Regions from separate parts of the Homo sapiens genome. Here regions 1, 2, 3, 4 and 6 are each linked to region 5. Evidence: promoter capture Hi-C in 16 types of primary human blood cells and fetal thymus (Javierre and others, 2016). All regions are on one chromosome and are shown on one strand. The core of a region is centred on a gene start or on the middle of the fragment in contact, and the rest is flanking DNA. Distances in the headings are between cores, read along the strand shown. Region 1 overlaps PHC2 (polyhomeotic homolog 2). Region 2 overlaps ZSCAN20 (zinc finger and SCAN domain containing 20). Region 3 overlaps YARS1 (tyrosyl-tRNA synthetase 1). Region 4 overlaps ZBTB8OS (zinc finger and BTB domain containing 8 opposite strand). Region 5 holds the start of AZIN2 (antizyme inhibitor 2). Region 6 overlaps CSMD2 (CUB and Sushi multiple domains 2).

The links. The method cuts DNA at HindIII sites, captures the fragments that hold promoters and counts their contacts. A CHiCAGO score of 5 or more calls a contact.
Region 1: a fragment that was not itself captured here is called in contact with the fragment with the promoter of AZIN2 in region 5 in 1 of 17 cell types (neutrophils); the score reaches 5.2 in neutrophils.
Region 2: a contact is called between a fragment that was not itself captured here and the fragment with the promoter of AZIN2 in region 5, in 1 of 17 cell types (M2 macrophages). The highest score is 5.4, in M2 macrophages.
Region 3: a contact is called between a fragment that was not itself captured here and the fragment with the promoter of AZIN2 in region 5, in 1 of 17 cell types (M2 macrophages). The highest score is 6.3, in M2 macrophages.
Region 4: a fragment that was not itself captured here is called in contact with the fragment with the promoter of AZIN2 in region 5 in 1 of 17 cell types (total CD8 T cells); the score reaches 5.4 in total CD8 T cells.
Region 6: a fragment that was not itself captured here is called in contact with the fragment with the promoter of AZIN2 in region 5 in 1 of 17 cell types (M2 macrophages); the score reaches 5.3 in M2 macrophages.

What each region holds. Positions count from the first base shown.
Region 1 is chr1:33,396,461-33,399,160 of GRCh38, forward strand. All of the region lies in intron 1 of PHC2 (polyhomeotic homolog 2), which reads right to left. Among named protein-coding and RNA genes, the nearest start is that of PHC2, 33 kb to the right of the region's middle. The HindIII fragment of the contact is 941 bases long and covers 978-1,918 here.
Region 2 is chr1:33,480,443-33,483,189 of GRCh38, forward strand. The region is part of intron 2 of ZSCAN20 (zinc finger and SCAN domain containing 20); the gene reads left to right. Among named protein-coding and RNA genes, the nearest start is that of ZSCAN20, 9.2 kb to the left of the region's middle. The HindIII fragment of the contact is 2,674 bases long and covers 135-2,747 here.
Region 3 is chr1:32,805,800-32,808,499 of GRCh38, forward strand. It overlaps YARS1 (tyrosyl-tRNA synthetase 1), which reads right to left. Exons shown (of 13, transcript NM_003680.4): 4 at 683-812. Among named protein-coding and RNA genes, the nearest start is that of YARS1, 10 kb to the right of the region's middle. The HindIII fragment of the contact is 1,736 bases long and covers 453-2,188 here.
Region 4 is chr1:32,627,249-32,629,948 of GRCh38, forward strand. It overlaps ZBTB8OS (zinc finger and BTB domain containing 8 opposite strand), which reads right to left. Exons shown (of 7, transcript NM_178547.5): 6 at 260-296. Among named protein-coding and RNA genes, the nearest start is that of ZBTB8OS, 22 kb to the right of the region's middle. The HindIII fragment of the contact is 2,305 bases long and covers 140-2,444 here.
Region 5 is chr1:33,079,879-33,082,578 of GRCh38, forward strand. AZIN2 (antizyme inhibitor 2) reads left to right here and starts at 1,275. Exons shown (of 12, transcript NM_052998.4): 1 at 1,275-1,416; 2 at 1,510-1,630; 3 at 1,723-1,934; 4 at 2,300-2,476. The coding sequence starts at 2,372. LOC105378635 (a long non-coding RNA gene) reads right to left here and starts at 1,118. Exons shown (of 3, transcript XR_947163.2): 1 at 1,043-1,118; 2 at 321-449. RefSeq lists a silencer at 1,237-1,496. The HindIII fragment of the contact is 16,354 bases long and covers 678-2,700 here.
Region 6 is chr1:33,570,234-33,572,933 of GRCh38, forward strand. It overlaps CSMD2 (CUB and Sushi multiple domains 2), which reads right to left. Exons shown (of 71, transcript NM_001281956.2): 50 at 2,273-2,458; 51 at 1,299-1,493. Among named protein-coding and RNA genes, the nearest start is that of ZSCAN20, 99 kb to the left of the region's middle. The HindIII fragment of the contact is 4,858 bases long and covers 1-2,700 here.

The DNA.
Region 1 (2,700 bases), core at 198-2,697, 320 kb after region 5:
CCAGTGCATCTCAGAATGAATTTCATTACCATTGCCTTGGATATCATATTGATTACCAGTTTCATCGATCCCTATCTTGCTAATTAGCATATAAATTAGCCATTTGGGGGAGGCATTAGGCAAAATTGAATTTTCTCCTTAATCTTCTTTCAGAAGGTAAATGAAAATGGATGTGGCCTGTTAAAGCCCATGGCCTTCCTCTGACACAATCTAAGTGCTGTTCACAGCCAAGGAACCCTCTGGTATGGGGAGAGAGTGGCTTGTGGAAGGCGGCTTCCTGCCCCGTAACTGATAAGAGCTGCGGTCAGAATCCTTGAAGAGTTTTCACAAAAATTTGAGGTAGAGGCTTTGCAAGCTGAGATGCATTTCTTTGGAGGAGACACTCTGAGCTGACGGACAGCAGCGTCCTCCTCCCACACAGACACAAGAGGAGGCCCCTTGGTACAGCACTTCCTATGGTGTTCACTTTCAAGGCTGAAATGGAGAATGCCACTCGCTCTTTGGTTTAGTGTTAACACGAGGAGTCTGGAATCAGATGGTCTGTGGGAAGGCCTGCTCTGCCTCTTACCAGCTGTGTAATATTGAGCACATTCACCTCTCTAAGCCTTAGTTTCCTCATCTGTGAAATGGGGATAATCACAACACCTACTTCACTGAGTAGCTGGGACAATGAGAGGAACCATATATTCAGAGCATTCAGCACAGGGTCTGGCAGCAGCACCATCACCAGGCACCAGAGGTCAAATAAAAATCTTAGGAAATTGAATGCCAGGGTTCTCCAGAGGGAGCTGCTCAGCTCTGAAGTAAACATTACCAGGTGCTTAGTCCCGGGAACAGGTCACAGGCCAGTAGTTGAGGGCCACTTCTTGAGTCTTTGGAGCATGTTGAAAATGCAGAATCTTGGGCCCCACCCCAGACCTGCTGAATCTGAATGAGCATTGCAACAAGATCCTCTGGGTCATTCACGTGCACATTAAAGCTTAAGAGGAATTGTTTTGAGCCATCCTCTTAATTATAATCTTACCCTGTTAGACAAGGAGGAGACTTCGCAGAAAGGTTAAGTAACTTGCTTACAGTCCATCCATGGCAGAGACCAGATGAGGCCTCGGTCTCCTGACTCTGAGACTGGTCCAGATTCAGCTGTGGCCCTCCTGAGTCTGTTCCTCTGGCAGCACGGCAGCTCTCTGCCCTCTTTGTTTGGGGTGGTCTCAGTGGGTGATTTTGGCTCTGCCTCAGGGTACATCCACCATGCACTTTGAAAGGAGATATTCCTTTGGAATATTGTTGGGGGTTATGAAGCCTGGTTACCAGGATGACCTCTGCAGAGAATACTGATGCGACAAAGGAAAATACCCTTGATGACCTCTGCAAATGCTTGCCTGCCCTTTGAACTCAAAATGCTTCAGATAAGGATACACAAGAAATCGCAGACAGTGATGCCTCCCGGGGAGTAGGGGGAGGCATGCTTTTCACCGTATACTCTTTTGAATCTTTTGGACTTTGTTCCCTGTGCATGTAAAAAAATACTTAAAAATTAATTGTTAAATAATATTACAAGAATGCCTCAGACAGATTGCAACTAAAAACAAGACCCCATCTGGCTCTGCCATTAGATCATCTAGCCCTGCTTATGATAGCACTGCTTTTTGCTTCTCTTTCCTCCTGAAACCTGAAACTGAAAAGCATTGTGGAAAGGCTCTAAGGCTTGAGTGCAGAGGTAGACTCTGGTCTTGCTTCAGCACTATCAGATTCCTCAGCAGGATGTGAAATGCTTTGCAACATTTTAAATGACATTAAGTAAGTGTAATTATGATTTAAACCCCACCTCTACCCCCAGTAAATCACAGCCAGAGGAAGGAGAGAACTTTTGTCTAATAGGCTTCCCCTAGATTTGGAATAACCAATCAAAATGGCACTAAGCTTGTTACAAATGTAATATGCATAATATAATCCCATTGTTAAGTACATGTTATTTAATGTATAGCTTAGCTGGGAGGATAGATACCAAATGTTAACAATGGCTGCTTTGGGTGATAGTGTTACTGCTGATTTTTATTTTCTCATTTATCCTTTTCTTTATTTTCCAAATGTCTATGTATCTTAAAGTATCTGGGCTTCAACATCACAGTATTCTTAGCACAAAACATAAGGGAAAAGATGCTCACTTCCCATCTGAACATTCATTCACAAGCTGGTAGTGCAGTTCTGCCCACATTGGTCCTCTGCATTGAAGTACCTGCTGAACGAGGGGCTGCAGGCATTCTTGGTTTCCCAAAGCTATATTCCAGTAGATACAGGGACTTTTTGGTAGTTTTCAGAGCTAGAAAGCACACACAGATGGGAGGCACTGGTTTCTAGGATGGCTTCACAACAGAGGGCACAGTTGGCTAAAGTCAATTCCTGACCCAGACATTGACCATGAAGTGTTCTTGGGGCAAGTCCAGTTGACCTCGATAGCCTCGCTGATTGTTGCTTGGAGGGTAGGTGAAAAAGACACGGTTTCTTTCTTCAGGCAGTCTGGGTCCAGAGTTCAAGGAGTTTTACAGTATTGGAAGAACAATGAAACTATATACAAGGCAAAATGTGAAAAATTCTACTACAGATGTACAAAGTGAACAGTAGAACAAAACAGTGTGTGGGGTTGGGGTATTCAGGCCTGAATAGGATCCACCTCTGTCCTGCATTATGAGTGTGACTAGG
Region 2 (2,747 bases), core at 222-2,721, 400 kb after region 5:
CATTGTTCTTTCTACTGCATGTCAGATGCCTCCTCTGCAAACCATGGGAATTAAAATACCTTTGAGCCATGAGGCTCAAATGAGATATTAGTTGACATTTTGTGAGCACTCACTGTGTGTCAGATACTGGTCTAAGCTTATATATATAGCCCTCATCTAATCAACCCAGCAATCCAATAAGGTAGGTGCTATTATCATTGCCATTTGCCAAATGGGTAAACAGAGATGGAGAGGTAAGTAACTTATCTAACTTTATATAACTACGTGATAGAGCTGAGGTAAGGGAAATGAAAGTATGGATTTAACATTCGCAGTTTCAACAATTTGCAAGTGACCGCTGAAAGCCCATGATATAATGCATAATTTTGCTATGACACACATTTTGAATCCTGCTTCAAAGCTGGTATATGTAGAACAGATCCTTTAGCTGGATCCAGAACCTTCCTCTAAACATGACTTTTTCTCTACTTGTTATAGTTAGTAATTCTTGTGATATTTTACTTACCCCCATTTTGCTGGGGGAAATTACAGGTTTGGGAACATATCCCTTGCAAATGGCAGGGGTTTTCTGTACATTTAAACTGTAAAGTTCTATACAGTGTGAGGTTGGGGGAGCAAAGGTTTTAGACCGGTGACTTTGCTCTTTGGATTCCTTTACAAACTGATTGAAGATACAGGGAGACTAATATATAAAGTTACAGAACTAAGTATGAGAGAGTGTGCCTTATTTTAATGTACCTCCCCACCCCCCTATATTATTTCTTTTAAAGAAACCAGCTGTTTGTCTTAAGTGGCAGTGAAGAAACAAATGGAAGTTTTAGGGCTTCAGAGTTGGGACATAAAGAACTTGAGACCCAGAGATGAAAACGGATTTAAATCAAGGTCTTTATGATTCTTCATCTGTAAAATGAGAGGGTTGGATTAGACCAAAGGTTCTCAAATTATGCCCCTGTGAGCTGACCAAAAGTTGAACTGCTTCTAAAATTGAGAAAAAAATAAGGTAATGGAATCTTGTCTATTATGTATTTTTGTTTTTACTGTGACTTTTTTTATTTTTAAACTTTCCTACCTGCTCCTGAGTGGTCACAAATTTCAAAACAAATGGACAAGTAGCAGAGGAGCTTGTTTTTTTCAGGTGCAAATGTAGCTTGTGATCTTACATTGCAAGATATATAACTTAGTTGCATTCTCTGCAAGTAAAATTTTTCAAGTCTTAATAATGGGATGAAATATAGTTATAATATTCCTCAAAGTGAACCTGAAAAAGGTTGGTGCCTACAGGACTAAATGGCCCCTAAGGTAATTTCCTAAAAGGGATCTTTCAGCTCTGCTATTTTGTGATTGTTACTTGTTTCTTCTGTCATCACCATCTTGTTGAATCCCCCTCTCTGTCAGATGCCCCCTCTCCATCAGGTGCACAGGGATTTTTAAAAAACAGGCTTTATTTTTTAGAGCAATTTTAGGCTCAAACTCACAGCAAAATTGAGCAGAAGGTACAGAGAGTTCCCATCCCTCCCCGACAAGCCTCCCTAACTATCAACATCCCTGCACCAGAGCAATATGTTTATTACCATTGATGAACCTACAGTGATACATCATTATCATCACTCAAAGTAGCAGTTTATGTTAGGGCTCTTAATGTTATTCATTCTGTAATGTATGACATTAAGAGCCCTATTATAAACTGTATCTACCATCATAGTGACATAGTAACATGTATCTACCATTGTAGTGACATACAGAGTAGCTTCACTGCTGTAAAAACCCTCTGTGTTCTACCTGTTTATTCTTCCTTCCCCCCAACCCCTGGCAACACCGATCTTTATACTGTCTCCATAGTTTTGCCTTTTAAAAAATGTTACATAGTTGGAATCATACAGTATATAGCCCTTTCAGATTGGCTTCTTTTACTTAGTAGTATACATTTAAGTTTCCTCCACGTCTTTTCATGGCTTGTTAGCTCATTTCTCTTTAATGCTTAACAATATTCCGTTGTGTGGATGTACCACAGTTTATTTATCTACTCACCTACTGAAGGACATCTTGGTTCCATCAAAGTTTTGGCAGTTATGTATGAAGCTGCTGTAAATATTCATATGCAGGTTTTTGTGTGGACCTAGTTTTCAGTTCATTTGGGTAAATACCAAGGGACATGATTGCTGGATCATATGGTAAGAGTATGTTTACCTTTGTAAGAAATTGCCAAACTGTCATCCAAAGTGGCTGTACCATTTTGCATTTTTACTAGCAATGAATGGGAGTTCTTGTTGCCCCACATCCTTGCCAGCATTTGGTGTTTTGGATTTTGGCCATTCTAATAGGTAGATAGTGGTATTTTATTGTTGTTCGAATTTGCAATTCACCAATAACCTACCATGTTATACATGTTTTCATATGTTTACTTGCCATCTGTATATTTTCTTTGGTGTGGTGACTGTTAAAGTCTTGCCCATTTTTAAATTGGGTTGTTTGTCTTCTTACTCTTGAGTTTTAAGAGTTCTTTGTATGTTCGGGGTAACGGTCCTTTATCAGATATGTGTTTTGCAAATATATTCTCCCAGTCTGTGGCTTGTCTTCTCATTCTCTTGACAGTATCTTTCATAGAGCAGTATTTTTTAATTTTAACGAAGTCCAGCTTATCAATTATTTCTTTCATGGATTATGCCTTTGATTTTGTATCTGAAAAGTCATTGCTATACCTGACATTATCTCAGTTTTCTCCTATATTTTAGGAATTTTATAGTTTT
Region 3 (2,700 bases), core at 71-2,570, 270 kb before region 5:
AAATACAAAAAAAATCAGCCGGGCATGGTGGCAGGCGCCTGTAATCCCAGCTACTCGGGAGGCTGAGGCAGAGAATTGCTTGAACCCGGGAGGCGGAGGTTGCAGTGAGCCGAGATTTCGCCACTGCACTCCAGCCTGGGCGACACAGCGAGATTCCGTCTCAAAAATAAATAAATAAATAAAGTGAGCTATGTGTGACTCTCCCTTTCAACACTTAGAGGCCATTGTAGGGTTATTAATTAGCCTAATTTCAATATTGTTGTGTTTTAGGAAATGAGGAGGCCAGGAGAGTGAGGAAATGGCTGGATGGTAGAGTAGTCAGAACACACACAATACTTATTAAGTTCGTTGTCTTATACGGGCACAGTTTGTGGTGCCCCAAAACAATTACAATATTTAACATCAAAGGTAACAGATCGCATATCACCATGCAGATATGATAATAATGAAAAAGCTTGAAATACTGTGAGAATTACCAAAATGTAGCACAGAGACACGAAGTGAGCACATGCTGTTGGAAAAATGGTGCTGGTGGACTTGCTGTACACAGGGTTGCCACACACCTTCAATTTGTAAAAAACACAATATCTGCGTAGTGCAGTAAAGCAAAGTGCAATAAGATATGCCTGTCATCAAACCAGAGCAGAAAAGGTCATCGGGCCACTCCATCCCCCTTAAGTACCTGCAGTCCGGGGTATAAGAGGCCACTCAGCAAAGGGTGCTCCACCTGCTTTACCACCTCAGCTCCAGCCTTCTTGGAATCGTGCTGTGTGACCACGGAGGAGAGTCTGTACACATCTAGTGTGTACTCTCTGAAGAGGAAAGGAAGAGGGGACAGCTGTAAACCTGGGCCTAGGCCTCAGTTTCCTAGGAAATCTAAAGCACATTAATTTACTTCCCTAACCTTAGTGTAACCAGGGATCTCGGTTTTAAAAATATATTTTAATCACCAACTTTCTTCTTCTTTCCCTCCCTTCTGGCAATGCATGCTTATTTAATTATGTTCTTGCTTAAGAAATTTCAGAGAGGAGGGTGAGGATTCAAAAACTACCTATTGGGTATTGTGCTGATTACCTGGGTGACAAAATTGTCTGTACACCAAACTCCTGTGACATGTAACAAACCTGCACATGCACCCCTTGAATCTAAAATAAAAGTTGGAAAAAAAGAAATCACAGAAGCTAATCTTGAAACAAACTAGGCATGGAGCCCAGACTGCAGAATCCTCCTGCTCAGAGGGAGTCTGGAACGATTAGTCCATCACCATCAGTCTGAAGTCAAGATAACACCAACCATACCTCCTGACAGGCAATTATGCAAGACAGCCATCAGAACAAAGACAGACAGACCCTGCATTCTCACCACTCCTGCATGTCTCCCACACCAAGTCTCCCTTTAAAAACACTATGGTAACATTTAGAATTTAAGATAGTACTTTAGAACACTAGTTCACCATCTTCTCGGTTTGTTGGCTTTCTGATCAAACCTGCTTTTCCTCCTACCAACCCATATCTCTTGTGTCGGGCTTTCAAGTGGCCGGGCAGCCAAACCTGGGTCCAGTTACATTAGGACATTCAAACAGAGCACTGCCTGGTAGCTTCTAAAATGTGATAGACCTATCTTCTCATCTAAAATATTACTTTATTTTTATGTTTTTCCTTTTATTTTTTTTTTTGAGACAGGGTCTCACTCTGTCACCTGGGCTGGAACACAGTGGTGTGATCACAGCTCATTGCAGCCTCAATCTCCCTGGGCTCAGGTGATCCTCCCACCTCAACCTCCAAAGGAACTAGGACTATAGGCATGTGCCACCACACCTGGCTAATTTTTCTATTTTTTGTAGAGACGTGGTTTCCCCCCATTGCCCAGGCTGGTCTGGAACTGCTGGGCTCGAGCAATCTGCCCACCCCAGCCTACCAAAGTGCTGGGAAAACAAGCCACAGTAGCGGGCTTGTTTTTCTTTTTAAAAGAGGGCTTCAATTAGTATTTTTCTTCACTTCTGGAAAACGTTCTGCCATTATCTCTTGAAACACTGCTTCTCTGCCATTCTCCTTCAGTCTCTTCATTTGGAATGCCTTTTCAACTGATATCAAAATTTCCCAATCTATTTCCATGTTTTTTTGTTTTTGAGACAGGATCTTGCTCTGTTGCCCAGGTTGCAGTATAATGGCACAATCATAGTCACTGAAGCTTTGATCTCAGCTCAAGTGATCCTCCCACCTCAGCCTCTCAAGTAGCTGGGATTACAGGTGCATGCCATGATGCCTAGCTAATTTTTTTGATTTTTAGTAGAGATGAGGTCTCGCTACGCCCACTCTGGTCTCGAATTCCTGAGCTCAAGTGATTCTCCTGCCTTGGCCTCCCAAAGTGCTGGGATTACAGGCATGAGCCACTGCATCCAGCAACCCCCACTCCCCCACCATTTTTTTTTTTTTTTTGAAACAGAGTCTCGCTCTGTTGCCCAGGCTGGAGTGCAGTGGTGCGATCTCGGCTCACCACAACCTCTGCCCCGTGGGTTCAAGCGATTATCCTGCCTCAGCCTCCTGAGTACTGGGATTACAGGCGTGCACCACCACACCTGGCTAATTTTTGTATTTTTAGTAGAGATGGGGTTTCACCATGTTGGCCAGGCTGGTCTTGAACTCCTGACCTCAGCCTCCCAAAGTGCTGAGATTACAGGCGTGAGCCACCATGCCTGGC
Region 4 (2,700 bases), core at 42-2,541, 450 kb before region 5:
CAAAAAGGCAAAGAGAATTTCAAATTCCACAATAATCTGAACAAACTTGACCCTAGAACCCAATGCTGACGCCTCATCCACTAAATCAGGTGTGTATAATCACAGTATTTTAACAAAATATATCCAGACAGGTCAGAGAAGCTTGAGAAAAACTTATCACTTTACACCAGTTAGAACTAACTGAAGTTGATTGTCACATATATGAACTTTATGGTAAGGAAATTTTTCATGTTCTTAATGGCTGGATTTTAAAACATACCTGAGGGTGCTTGGACAATGAAAATTCTTCTCCCCACCTTGAGAATACAAATTAAAACATGATTAAGATTTGTTCTCTCTTTATATGTTTTAAAATAAGCCTTGTAAATGTGGTTAACATGCTAGAAAGCCAAAAGAGACAGGAGGGGGTCAGGGAGCTGTTAAGTTTCATTTTCATTTGTCAGAAGATACAGCTGTTGAGGGACGTGTGTGCAGTGTCATCATTTGCTCTCAAGGTTGATAGTTAAGGCCAGGTGCGGTGGCTCATACCTATAATCCTGGCACTTCCGGAGGCCAAAGGGAGGATCGCTTGAGCCCAGGAGTTTGAGAACAGCCTGAGCAACATAGGGAGACCTCATCTGTACACAAAATTAAAAAAATAAAAAAAGTTAGCTGGGTGTGGTGGCACATGCCTGTGGTCCCAGCCACTCACGAGGAGGAGGCAGGAAGATTGCTTGAGCCCAGAAGTCAAGGCTGCAGTGAGCTGTGATTGCACCACCGCACTCTAGCCTGGGTGTCAGGGCAAGACTGTGTTTCAAAAGAATTTTTAATTATAGGCCAGGCGCGGTGGCTCATGCCTGTAACCCCAGCACTTTGGGAGGCCGAAGCAGGTGGATCATCTGAGGTCGGCAGTTGAGGTCGGCAGTTTGAGACCAGCCTGACCAACATGGAAAAACCCTGTCTCTACTAAAAACACAAAATTAGCCGGGCGTGGTGGCGCATGTCTGTAATCCCAGCTACTTGGGAGGCAGAGGCAGGAGAATCGCTTGAACCCAGGAGGTGGAGGTTGCAGTGAGCCAAGATCGCGCCACTGCACTCCACCCTAGGCAACAGAGCGAAATGAAAAAGGTCAGGCGCGGTGGCTCATGCCTGTAATCCCAGCACTTTGGGAGGCCGAGGTAGGCGGATCACCTGAGGTCAGGAGTTCAAGACCAGCCTGGCCAACATGATGAAACTCTGTCTCTACTAAAAATACAAAAATTAGCCAGGCGTGGTGGTAGGCACCTGTAATCCGAACTACTCAGGAGGCTGAGGCAGGAGAATCGCTTGAGCCAGGAGGCGGAGATTGCAGTGAGCTGAGATCATGCCACTGCACTCCAGCCTGGGCAACAGAGCGAGACTCTGTCTCAAAAAAAAAAAAAAATTTAATTCTAGTGGCCAGGCACAGTGGCTCCCACCTGTAATCCCAGCACTTTGGGAGGCAGAGGTAGATGAATCCAGGAGTTCAAGACCAGCCTGGCCAACATGGTGAGAACTCGTCTCTACTAAAAATACAAAAATTAGGCAGGCATGGTTCCATGCGCCCGTGGTCCCACCTACTCGGGAGGCTGAGGCACAAGAATGGTTTGAATCTGGGAGGCGGACATTGCAGTGAACCAAGATCACATCATTGCACTCCCAGCCTGGGCAACAGAGTGAGACTGTCTAAAAAACAAACAAACAAAAAATTAATTTTAAAAACTTTAAAAAAAGGTTGATAGTTGATCTCAAAATAAATGTGCCCCAATATAGTGTACCTATGGTGGAATCTCAATAAACATTGTTTAGTAAATATTGTTTCAAAACAGAGTAGTAACATATTCAAAATTTTTACTATCCTCAGTTATGAAACTAGTTAAGTAGGCTGGGTGCGGTGGCTCACACCTGTAATCTCAGCACTTTGGGAGACTGAGGCAGGAAGATAGCTTGAGCTCAGGGGTTTGAGACCAGCCTGGGCAATGTAGCGAGACCCTGTCTCTACAAAAGATTAAAAAAAAAAATTAGCCAGGCATGGTGGCATATGTCTGTTGTCCTAGCTAGGTGGGAGGTTGAGGTAGGAGGATTGCTTGAGCCCAAAAGGTCATGGCTGCAGTGAGCCATGATCATGCCACTGCACTCCAGGCTGAGAGACAAAGCAAAACCCTCTCTCAAAACAAAAACAACAAAAACAAAACAAAAAAGAAAAACAAAAACTAATTAAATAATACCTCCCACTGGAGAAAGCAAGTCTGAGTACCACAAAGGCAAAATACTAGACTCTATAATACAGTCCGAACTTGGTTTACACTTTACAACTTTTCCAAAAATATCCATGATCTGTATATAGAAGGCCCTAGAAAAGTAATCTAGAACTTAGGATCAGTCTCCTCTCTGTCTTTGACACTAATGTGAGTGAAGATCACAACGTGGTATAATAGAAAGAGCAAAGCTTTAAAATTCTGTTCAAACACTTATTAGCTAGTACTTTTGGACATGCTTGTTTCTTTTTTTTTTTTTTTTTTTTTTGAGCCAGAGTCTCGCGCTGTTGCCAGGCTGGAGTGCAGTGGCACAATCTTGGCTCACTGCAACCTCTGCCTCCTGGGTTCAAGCGATTCTCCTGCCTCAGCCTCCTGAGTAGTTCAGATTACAGGTGCCCACCACCACACCTGGCTAATTTTTGTATTTTTAGTAGGGATGGGGTTC
Region 5 (2,700 bases), core at 25-2,524:
CATACTGTTTTAAAGACTGTAGTTTTGGCCGGGCGCGGTGGCTCACGCCTATAATCCCAGCACTTTGGGAGGCCGGGGCGGGTAGATTACTGGAGGTCAGGAGTTCAAGACCACCCTGGCCAATATGGTGAAACCCCATCTCTACTGAAAATACAAAATTAGCTGTGCGTGGTGGCATGCGCCTATAATCCCAGTTACTTGGGAGGCTGAGGCAGGAGAATCGCTTGAACCCAGGAGGCAGAGGTTGCAGTGAGCTGAGATCGTGCCATTGCACTCCAGCCTGGGCAAAAAGAGTGTCTTGACTGTTCTTGTACACTTACTTTTCCAGATGAACTTTTATATCAGCTTTTGAGTAACACAGCTATTGAATCTTCCTCAGCATTCTTGTCTATGCCAGGCACCAGGCTCTTGAGCAGGGTATTCAGTCCTTGCCCTTGGGAAATCACAAACTAGATGCAAAGTGTAACCAAACAAGAAGTGTAAAATAACAACAGGAATCTCACGCTATGGGTAACAAGAACCAAATGAGTGAGGGGTCCAGACAGACTAAATGCTGTGTTCCTTGGGGCCAGGCAAGTCATGGAAGGTTCAACAGAGGTGACATTATACAGGACTTTGATGGGTGAGCAGCAGCTTTCGGTATAGAAGAAATGCTTTGAGTTGAGGAAGTCCGGGAAAGCTTCTTGGAGAAGGAGACACATTTCTATTGAGAGATGAGTAAGAGTTTGCCGGGTTCACAGGATGGGATAAAGGGAGGGATTGCCCTGAACTGGGAAAGTCACAAAAAGGTTCTCTGAAGACATTTTAGATGCGTTTTGAGTTGGAGTCGGGGAAGATGCCTGGAAGAGGCAATTAAATAAAAAGAATTTTATTACAAAAGTAATACAAGGACATGTCATTGGAACCGGGTTTCGAGAGATGAGTGAGCAGTTCCTGACGCAGACAAGAGCTGGACCACGAAGTAAGTTGAGGCAGAGGCAGAAAAGGCTTCCTGGTCCTGCCCACTCTCTAAGACCTAAGATGCAGGGTCTAAGTGTCTCACCTGCGTGGCGGCGGCCCTGTAGTTCTGACTTCCAGCGTGAGGTAGCCACCGCCAGGCCTCCGGGGGAGAAGACTACAGTAAGGGCGAGCAGAGCTGAATGCTTTATGTCGGAATCGACCAATGGGATGGCGGCACCCGGTTGCCAGGGCTACGGCCAAGCGGAGGTAGGGCCTCGGCACTATGGGCGGGGCCTGGGCGGGGTTATATAAGCCAGCGGCGGGCGGAAGGCGGGGCGTGGGGGTCTGTGGCTGCTGGGCTGGCGGGGCGCAGGCCGCGGGACCCGAGCCCGGGGAAGCGAGAGAGCGGAGGCGCCGAGGATCCGATTCACTCCCTGGGGAGACCTATGGGCCGAAGCCGTGTAAATGCGTTTTAAGGCGAGTGCGGAAAGTGGCCTGGGGAGCCTCGGGGAGCGGACGCCCTCCGCCCTGGTGCTGACCTGCCTCCCTGCCCCTTCTGCCTCCTGTCAGCAGAGGCCTCGGCTCCGCAACTGCCACTCCTCCTCGGGGTGTTGCACAAGTTTCGAGGTCACCGGCGACCCCCCCTAGCAGCGCGCCTGGCTCTGGCCCCCGCGAAGGAGGACGGAGTTTGGTAAGGGGCCCTGGGGGTTGGGGGGACCTCAGCCCTGCACTCTGTAGGAGTCACTCGGACAGAAAAAACCTCGGCCTTCCGTTCTCTCCCAGGAGCTTGCGGCCCCCACCCACCGCGTGGCGTCCCCAGGCACGCCTAGAATTCTAGCACCTCAGGATCAGTCCAGCCCCCATTTACAATTGGGGAAACTGCGGCTCCGAAAGGGTCAGAGGGTACCCGAGGTCAAGCAGTAGAGAGCGGACTCGAACTTAAGCTCTTGCTCTTAGGCTGAGACGCCTTGATGTGGCCACCGGCTACCCTCTAGGTGGGCGTGGTCAAGACTGGGGGCGCCCTGGAAACTTCCCCACCCAAGTTTCTCAGATTTTCTGTTCCATCTCTCTCTCACTCTTTCCTGAAATCCAGAATTTCAGAACTGGGAAGGCTCTCCAAAACAATTCATCCATTTTACAGAGGGAGCAACTGACTCGGAGAGGCAGTGACATTTGGGCATACGGTGCCTTGTCTCCGTCTGAAATCCGGGATTCTTGACTTTCTCCACCCTTGCCCAGTGAACCCCGGGCTTGTGCTGGGGGCGGGTTGTGACGGGATTGGGATCCCTGGCCTCGGGAGGCGAGTGGGGCAGCAGAGCCGGCCCCCCAGCGGTTCCCTTCATCTCCCCTCGCCCCGCAGTGTGTTGCATACTTTCTAAGGCGGCGGCTGCAGCAGCGGCTCCATCCAGCCCGTCAGCTCCTCCTGCAAGGCATGGCTGGCTACCTGAGTGAATCGGACTTTGTGATGGTGGAGGAGGGCTTCAGTACCCGAGACCTGCTGAAGGAACTCACTCTGGGGGCCTCACAGGCCACCACGGTGAGGGGCTGGGAATGGGGGTGGGTCCCCGGTCCCCTGTACAGATCAGCTGCCTCCTCAGGAAGGGTCCCTAGGGCCCTCATCTTATCCTTTCGCTTATTTGGTACGCAATCCTTGCTATTTGCAAGAGAGGGGCTCAATTTATCCCCAATTCTTTGTCCTTGCCCCCAAACCTGCCCCTCCTATGTTGCCTTTTTACCCAGCCCTCCAAGGTCAGAAACGGG
Region 6 (2,700 bases), core at 94-2,593, 490 kb after region 5:
CTTGGCTCCCTGCAACCTCTGCCTCCTAGGTTCAAACAATTCTTTTGCCTCAGCCTCCCAAGTAGCTGGGATTACAGGTGGGCACCACCATGCTGGCTAATTTTTTTTTTTTTTTTTTTTAGTAGAGACAGGGTTTCACCATGTCGGCCAGGCTGGTCTCGAACTCCTGACCTCAAGTGATCCACCCACTTCAGCCTCTCAAATGCTGGGATCTATGCCCAACCTGGATCACAGGCATTGGAAGACACCATTTCTCCTCCTTCCCAGTTTCAAACTCCCACTTCTCACTGACCACTTCCTTCTACCTCTTTACAATCACTTGCCTCCTCTGTGACATCTGCATTGGTCACATAAATATGATGAGCATATCCCTATCGTAGTGCATGCTGCGATGAGCTACTCAGAGCCCCTTTTAGGACCGAGGGACTTATTTCCCCAGCTGCTGGAAAACAACCCTTGGCTGGCAGCCCTTTTCAGATTGCTGTGGTTGAGGAGTCCTCCCACCTAGGAAGGTCATGTCCCATTCCTAGGCCAGCCTGCATCCAGTGGCTGGTCAGTGTGGCAGTATAACAGTTCCCTTGCTCCAACTTGTGACAATTCTGAAGGGCCATCCAGAGCTCCCTGGGGGGTGAGCTAAGGCTTTCATGGATACTGCATCAGAGCTCAATTCTCCTTCTGCCCAGTCCTGCTTCCTTCCCTCCTTTCCCTTCTGTAGGTGGTGTTCTCAAGAGCACCCCCTAATAAGCCTCTGTCTCAGAGTGTCTTCCCAGAGATTCCGACCTTTGAAAGTGTATTAAAGAACCAAAGAAAAACAATTGACAATGGAGAAGGCAGGCAGGTTTAGGTGACCTGTCGCCTGTGCTACCCTCATTCCTCCTATATACACTCCCATTTCAGGTCTTATCGCACCACATTATCATCACTTCTTTATGTGTCTGCCTCTCCAGTAGACTATAAAGTCCTTGTGGGCAGGAACCAAAATCTTTTATCTTCAAACCTCTACAGTGTCTGGCATATAGTAAGAGCCTAAGAATATTAAAGAAATGAATTAGTGCATGCTCATCTGGACAAAAGCAGCTTTTGATAAGATGAGAAGATGCTAAGAAATACTTCCTTAAAGGAGTAAAGGAGTAGGCATTTTCCCAGCTCCTGATTCTACTAGATGAGAGTTTAAAAAGCAGTACACTGCAATCCCTGGTGATACCCCTTTTTCCCCCACCCCAGTTCACTCCATGCATGAGACAGCTTAGGTAGGAGGGACCCTGCTAAACTTGCCCACCCTCCCTTCCTGGGCTTACTTCGGCAGGTGGGCGTAGAGTCCCCGAGGCTCCATTTGCCATTGGCCTGACAGCGGATGACCCTTTGGCCAGTATAGTAGTAGCCAGGGTCACAGATGAGCATCAGCTGGGCCTGGAACTGATACTGTGTCTCAAAGATAAGCCTCCATCGGCCATGCTCCACGCTGATGCTACTGACATCAGGACAAGTCACAGCTGGGGAAATGAGGAAAAGAAAGGAGGATTAATTACTTGATTAATTCTGGAAGACCTTGTAAGAGCCCAGATCTAGGGACTTGGAGACCTTAATGCAATAATGAAGAATCCAGGAATCTTCAGTTCTCAGGCAGGTTTGGTAAATGAACAGGTGGGTTGGGTGGGGGATGTGGCAAACTGGGGAGTACAGTTCTGCTAAAAAATTAAAAATTAAAAAAGGGAAATAGTACTCAGTCAAGGTTGACTATTGAATGTTTGAGTTGCATTTGATTAGATTTTCATTTTTCAAGAGAAGACAGAAATCTGGATTTTAATGTAAAATTTCTTGATTTTAAAAGATTGTGGAGTAATTCAAAATTTGTTATAAAGCACCGTGTAGGCCAAAAAACAAAACAAAACAAAAACCTCTGTCTTTGGATGGGACATAGTCGAGGAGGTTGCCATTTTGTGATCTGGCCTAAAAGTTGTTGTTTTTAGAGCTTTGGAATCAAGGGACATTCATGCAAACTTTCTGACAGGTTTTCCATCTAAAAGGGAGTGGACCAGGCCATTCCTAAGTTCCATGGTGGTTTGTGGAAACATCTTAGGGCACAATGGTTATCAATGCTGAGAGCAGTTTCAGCACCTGCCTCCTCTTCTGAAATCCTCCAACCTCCATGTCCATGTTTTTTTTTTTTTTTCCCCCTCATTACTTTGCTTTTAGCTCACTCCTTGCAGGAATCTTTCCAGCTGCCTACCTAGCCCTTCCTTACACCCGCCTCCATTGCCCGAGGACTCACGGACACACTGTGGTGGGACATTGCGGTTGCTCCATAGGCCTGTGTCCAGACACTCTGCAGTGGCCTCAGCGCCTGCCTGGAGGTGGTAGCCTTCACTGCAGCTGTACATGGCCTTGGTTCCCACTGTGTACTCCTTGCCAAACACCATTCCATTCTTGGGGGCCTCAGGAAGCCCACAGGAAAGAGCTAGCAAAAGGAAAACAATGTCATGAGCATTTGTTTTAAGATGGTATTCTGAGAAACTATTTTTATCCTTCCTCCCCTCCCAAGGTCCTTTTATTAGTAAAAACTAATTAAAGGGTAAAGTATCATAATAAAAAAGAAAATGGGAGGATCATCAGCAGAAGAGTTTTTTCTTCTTTTTTTTTTTAAGTTTGGAAGAAGGAATAAAGATAGAAGTGCAAAGAAGCTGTAGCTCAAAATATATG